Regions from separate parts of the Homo sapiens genome. Here region 2 is linked to region 1. Evidence: promoter capture Hi-C in human tissues and cell types (Jung and others, 2019). All regions are on one chromosome and are shown on one strand. Each heading gives the region's core, a stretch centred on a gene start or on the middle of the fragment in contact. The rest is flanking DNA. Distances are from core to core; before and after follow the strand shown. Region 1 holds the start of TLDC2 (TBC/LysM-associated domain containing 2). Region 2 overlaps NDRG3 (NDRG family member 3).

Region 1 (3,225 bases), core at 726-3,225:
GAGGGTGAGACTCTTAGGTTTAGGGCTGAAATTCTTGTGCCATGGGCAATGCCCAGACCTGCCGAATCTCTGAGGCACTCAAAACCTGGCTGGCTTCTGTCAGCTGGGGCACCGTGGGATCCTCAGGAGCAGCAGCTGGGTCTGGAGCTGCCTCCTCCTCCTCTTCCTCTTCGTTACCCTCCTCCCCAGACAGGGTGTCCTCCACCTGGCTGGGCTGCAAAAACACAAAGTGGCCTGGTGTGTCCAGGGACAGGAGGTCCCAGCTTCTACCATCTCCTGAGCCCAAGAGCCTCCTCGGGCCACCTCATCACTCCCTGCCCATGTGCCTGTAACCCCCAGCCCAGCCCAGGGTAGTTGGGGGTTTCCACGACAGACAGGACGCTGCCCCTGCCGCCAGCCTGCTTCCTCCCTGGCCCCTGCCAGCTGAGGGCTGGAGCACAGTCCCCCCACCCCCGCCAGCACCCCACAAGGCTCAGATGGGGCCGTGGGCCGTGCGACTTGTCGGTCTGTTTGCCATGGTCCTGGGTGGGTGGCAGGGATCAAGTTCTAAGCTTGGGAGCAGAGGGGAAGGCAGGTGGTGGCATAGCCCTGGGAGCTTCAATTGTGTGTGTTTGTACATTAAATAATAACAACAAAAAACCCATCCTTGCCCAGGCCTGTGTTCAGTGTGCACTGTCTGTGATCTCTGTGTGTTTCTTCTTCTTTTTTCTTTTTCCTTTTTTTTTTTTTTTTGAGACAGGGTCTTGCTCTGTCACCCAGGCTGGAGTTCAGAGGTGCAATGTCAGCTCACTGCGACCTCTGGCTCCCAGGTTAAAGCAATTCTCTTGTCTCAGCCTCCCAAATAGCTGGGATGACAGGTGCCCACCACCATGCCTGGCTAATTTTTGTATTTTTAGTAGAGACACGGGTTCCTCCTGTTGGCCAGGCTGGTCTCGAACTCCTGACCTCAGATGATCCACCTGGCCTCCCAAAGTGCTGGGATTACAGGCGTGAGCCACCGCGCCTGGCCTTCTGTGTATTTCTTCTTATCAGCATTTTCCAAAGGAAGAAAATGAAGCCCAAAGGTTTCCCCATGAAGCCCGTGAAATGATGCATGCAGTCATATGTGGGATCATACATGTAGGTTCATGTAAAATGTGTTTGTCTGTGCGAATTGTGTGTTGGCTTGGAATAGAGTTGTGTAGGCACATCAATGTGTGGAGGTATTGAGTGTAAATTTGTGTTTATATATCAATGTGTTTGTGTGAGTTGTGATGGTGTAAATATCTACATCCATAAGGGGCATCATTATTCACTCATTCATTCATCCGAGCTTCCACTCTGTACCAGAGTGTGTGTGTGAGTGTGTGTGTTTGAATGTGTGTGTGTCTGTATGTGTGTTTGAGTGTGTGAGTGCATTTGAGTGTGTATGAGTGCATTTGAGTGTGTTTGAGTGTGTGAGTGTGTGTGTTTGCATGTGTATGCGTGTGAGTGTGTATATGTTATATGTATGTGTATGTGTGTGCCTCCACACAATGACCTTGCAGGCTTTTCCCAGGAAGAAGAGACCTCTCAAGGGCTGAGAGATGGACAGGACCCCCTCTCCTGCCCCGCTCTGTTCTCCAGGCTCAGGCCTGAGGCAGGTCTAGCTGTGTGTGGCTCTGAACAGAGCTCCATCCAGCACCCACTCCAGGGAGGAAGGGACAGAGACATCGGTCTGTCCCCCTTGAGAACCTTGGAGCAGGGGTGTTAAGACCCCATGTTCCTGAGTCAGTCCTTGCTCCAAACCACAGGCCTGCCAGGGAGGGACTTGAGAGGGGAACAAGTCACTGCCCGCATCCAACCCTAGCCCAGGCCCCACCCTGCCAGAGACCTCACCTCCTTTCACCTCCCAACCTGCACCACAGACGGAGTTGGAACCCTTACCAGCCGAGTGTAACGCCAGCGGAGGCCTCTCATTCTCCTGTCCCTGCTCAGCCGGCCGTGGGCAGTGAGTGAATCCTCAGCCCTGCCCAGGAAGGAAGCGCTGATAGGTGAGGCCTAGAGATGAGAGGGAGAGGCCTGGGGCACACCCAGCCAGCTCCATGCCCACGCCAGCTGCCCTTTGCTCCCTCTCACCTGTCACTCCAGGCCGAGCTGCTGCTGGGTGAGTCTGTGAGCAACTCGGCATTCAAGACCTCATTGCAGTTAGCATGTAACACGTATTAACCATACACCATAGATTCTGGTTGCAATTCCTTTCTACCTCCTTGTCCTTCTGGCAGCCTGGCCTTGGGACTGTGGGCCATTGGCCAGATGCCTAAGGCCCAGGCTGGAGGTCTGGGGCCTCTAGTTCCCCGTATGACCTTGGATAAGCCCATTTGCACTCCTGAGCCTCAGTTTCACCACACACAACATGTAACATGTTGAACCAGATAATCTCAGAAGACTTCGCGGGACTGACAGTCTGCCATTCACTTCCCTCTCCAAGCCGATGAGTGTGTTAGAACAGAAGCTAGAAGGGGGCATGCCTAGACTGAAAGAACAATCTGGCCCAGTGCAGTGGCTCATGCCGGTAAGCCCAGCACTTTGGGAGGCTGAGGGAGCCGTATCACTTGAGTCCAGGAATTTGAGACCAGCCTAGGCAACATGGTGAAACCCTGTCTCTACAAAAAATATAAAAATTAGCTGGGCATGGTGTCGTGCGCCTTAATCCCAGCTACTCGGAAGACTGAGGTGGGAGGATCACCTGAGCCTGAGAGGAGGAAGCTGCAGTGAGCCGAGATCATGCCACTGCACTCCAGCCTGGGCAAGAGTGAGGCCTTGTCTCAAAAAAAAAAAAAAAAAAAGCTATTTTTACTTTGCATCCTAAACACAGATGTATTTTAGGCTTTCATCATTGCTTTGCTTGTCATTTAACAGAAAGTTTCTTTATTAAGTCTTTGTTTCTTTTTCCATATTTAGTTTCAGATGGGGGTGGGGGGAACAGATGAATTTCTTTTTTTTTTTTTTTTTTTGAGTCAGAGTCTCACTCTGTCGCCCAGGCTGGACTGCAGTGGCATGATCTTGGCTCACTGCAAGCTCTGCCTCCCGAGTTCACGCCATTCCCCTGCCTCAGCCTCCCAAGTAGCTGGGACTACAGGCACCCACCACCACGCCTGGCTAATTTCTTGTATTTTTAGTAGAGACGGGGTTTCACTATGGAACATATGAATTTCTAAATTGAAACATAAATAAACTTTTGTTAATGTTCAGTAAAAAAAAAAA
Region 2 (3,225 bases), core at 81-2,580, 140 kb after region 1:
GCAATTCTCCTGCCTCAGTCTCTCGTGTAGCTGGGATTATAGGTACCTGCCACCATGCCTGGCTAATTTTTGTATTTTTATTAGAGACGGGGTTTCACCATGTTGGCCAGGCTGGTCTCGAACTCCTGCCTTGGCCTCCGAAAGTGCTAGGAGAAAGTGTTGCTTTTAAGTCATTTTGTTGGGATGGTTTTAACCAGGGTGTTCACTAAAATATAACTTTGGATGATTAGTCCACAGGTTGTATTGCATTTCCAATACCCCCAGGTAGGTACAAGTCTCATATTAAAGTAGTAATGATAATAACGATACCTAAATTTTGTATGGGGTTTAGAATTTTTTTTTTTTTTTTGAGACAGAGTCTTGCTCTGTCACCAGGCTGGAGTGCGGTGGCACAATCTCAGCTCACTGCAACCTCCACCCCCTAGGTTCAAGCAGTTCTCATGCCTCAGCCTCCTGAGTAGCTGAGACAACAGGTGACCGCCACCATGCCTGGCGAATTTTTTGTATTTTTGGTGGAGGTGAGTTTCACCATGTTGGCCAGGCTGGTCTCAAACTCCGCCCACCTCAGCCTCTCAAAGTGCTGGTATTACAGGTATCAGCCACTGCGCCCAGCCAATTTTCAGAATTATTTTATAGTAACATCCTGGTAAGCTCCCGTAACCTAACCTGAGAATATGCATTAGAAGGATTAATGATCAGATGGCATCAAGTGGGGAAAATTGGTTATAGAGGTCAGGATGCAGATTGCTCAGGTTCAAATCCTTGCTCTGCTGCTTGCTAGCTGTGTGACCTTTGGCAAATTACAATACCCCGTCCGAGCTTCAGTTTCTTCATCTGTAAAATGGGGTGGATTAAATATGTTGGGAAGCACAATGAAATAATGAATCCATAAAGTGCTTATCACGGTACCTGGCATAGTGTTAAGCGCTCAATAAATTTGGCTCGTATGAGTATTATATACTGCATTTTAGGGCTCTTGTTTGTCCTTTACCTCACTCAGGCTGCCTTAAAGTACAAATTGTTTTTAGGGATTCCGCCTTACAGCTGGCAGGAACCTGGAGCCATCTAAGAGCACACCCCAGGGCTTTGCTGGTGGTAGCTTTCCTCGTGTCCTGAGTTGCCTTCTTCAGGAGTGGAAGGCAGGGGGTTGTGCTTCTGCTTTTAGAGTTACTTTAGTATGACTCCTGTGTTAAAACTTCCGCTGGCCGATGGGTGTCTGGGATTAACAAGAAGGCTCCTAGATGGGTCTTGCTTTGTTCTAGCAGTTATTTATACCAGGACCCTGGAAGGGATAGAATTAATATATAAGACAGACTCAGATTTCCAGCTTGGCAGTCTCTACAAACCTCTCATTTACCACCTGCTGCCAGAACCCAGGAGTGACACAACAGGAAGGTGGGCCTATTGCAGGGGTTGCTGCCCTTTTCCTTTCAGGAAAATATGAGGGGTGTGAATGGCCCTTATCTAGGCCTGAGGATGAGCAGGGGTACTTCCTGTTACAGTGAGGATCTGTGAGCATATCAGCTACTTAAGTAGCTGCCTTTGATCCTTCCCCACCCCTTAGCTTATGGAGATAGGGGGGATAGCATCTCTGAGAGAATTTCTTCTGGCGAAGAGGTACCCAGACTTTCCTTTATGCAGTGAAAAATCTCAGCTGCATTTTTAAAAGTCTTCCATGGAGCTGGGTGGTTTGGCTTGTTTATCTGGCTTCCTGGGGGAGTCTCCTGAGATCCTTTGCTTTCCTAAGGGCCCCCAGGAGACAGCAGTAGAACCAACATCCATTACCGTAGACACTTGAGGGGATGTTTAAGTCAATAGTTTTAGGATTAGATTAATTCAGCCTTTAACCCTGAGGAAACTTAAGAGCCAAGTCATCAGATAATTGTGCATCTTCTAGACTGAAGTATGGAATTTAGCCCAGTACTCTGGGATCTCTTTCAGAGCTGAGCTAGGAATCCGCATGCTAGTTCCAGCTCCACACCTAGCTGGCTGTGTGAATTCAGAAATCACTTAAATTTTCTGGGCCTCTTTTCTCATTGGAGAATGAGGGCATTACTGTAAACCAGTGGTTCTTAGCCCTAGCTGCATGTAAGAATTACCTGTGAAGCTTTAAAAACAATACTCAGGCCCTACGTTAGCCCAATTAAATTGGATCTTTAAGGTTGGGGCTGAGTCATTGATAATCTTCACTGCTTCCCAGGTTTAAGTGTAGCTAAGATAACTACGTGGACAACATGACCAAGTTTTAAACAACTGAAAAAAGTTAAGCTTCTGTGTCATTCTGCTCCTCAGAAACCTTCAGGGGTTGTCTGTGTAGTAAAGTCCAGCTCAGGTGCTCTGCATTCTGACCTAGGCTACTTCTGCAGCTTGTCTTCTTTCCCAGCTATATTGTTCTTGGTGTCTCCTGAATGTATTGTCTTTTTTTTTTTTTTTTTTTTTTTGAGACAGGGCCTCGCTCTGCCCAGGCTGGAGTGCAATGGTGCAATCTCGGCTCACTGCAACCTCCACCCCCTGGGTTCAAGCCTCAGCCTCCTGAGCTGGGATTAAGGCATGCGCCATCATGCTCAGCTAATTTTTGTATTATTAGTGGAAATGGGGTTTCACTTTGTTGGCCAGGCTGATCTTGAACTTCTGACCTCAAGTGATCCTCCCACCTCAGCCTCCCAAAGTGCTGGGATTACAGGTGCCCTGCCTGAGTGTATTGTCTTTAATTCTTTCTTTCCCAACCCTGATGTCCTCACCTGTATGTCCCTCCTCCCTTCCCCTGTTCAAAACATATCCCTTTAGGGCCCATCATTCTCCCTTCCCTTGGGAAACTCCTGACCATCCTAATCCTTAGTTATTTCTCCTGCCTCTGCATTGGTTTTGAGCTTCATTAGCTCTGAGTGTATGTTCCAAACACTAGCTGCAATGTAAACATGATAACTCAAGCAGCATTCAATCCTTCAGAGAGTGGGACACATGGAAATACAGGTTGAGTATCCCTTATCCAAAATGCTTGGGACCAGAAGTGTTTCAGGTTTTGGATTTTTTCCAATTTTGGAATATTTGAATTATACTTACCAGTTGAGCATCCCTAATCTGAAAATCTAAAATCCGAGTGCTCCAATGAGCATTTAGTCTGAGCGTCATGTCAGTGCTCAAAAAGTTTTGGATTTTGAAGCACTTCGGATTTTGGATTTTCAGATTAGAGATGCTCAACATGTGCCACTGGGGTGACTTGTA

Evidence for each region. The method cuts DNA at HindIII sites, captures the fragments that hold promoters and counts their contacts. A contact is called where the count stands out against the background at its distance.
Region 2: a fragment that was not itself captured here is called in contact with the fragment with the promoter of TLDC2 in region 1 in 1 of the 25 tissues and cell types used here (aorta).

What each region holds. Positions count from the first base shown.
Region 1 is chr20:36,874,888-36,878,112 of GRCh38, reverse strand. It overlaps TLDC2 (TBC/LysM-associated domain containing 2), which reads right to left and starts at 1,975. Exons shown (of 7, transcript NM_080628.3): 1 at 1,906-1,975; 2 at 59-214. The coding sequence starts at 1,938. The HindIII fragment of the contact is 10,775 bases long and covers 1-3,225 here.
Region 2 is chr20:36,735,187-36,738,411 of GRCh38, reverse strand. All of the region lies in intron 1 of NDRG3 (NDRG family member 3), which reads left to right. Among named protein-coding and RNA genes, the nearest start is that of NDRG3, 9.3 kb to the left of the region's middle. The HindIII fragment of the contact is 3,411 bases long and covers 1-3,035 here.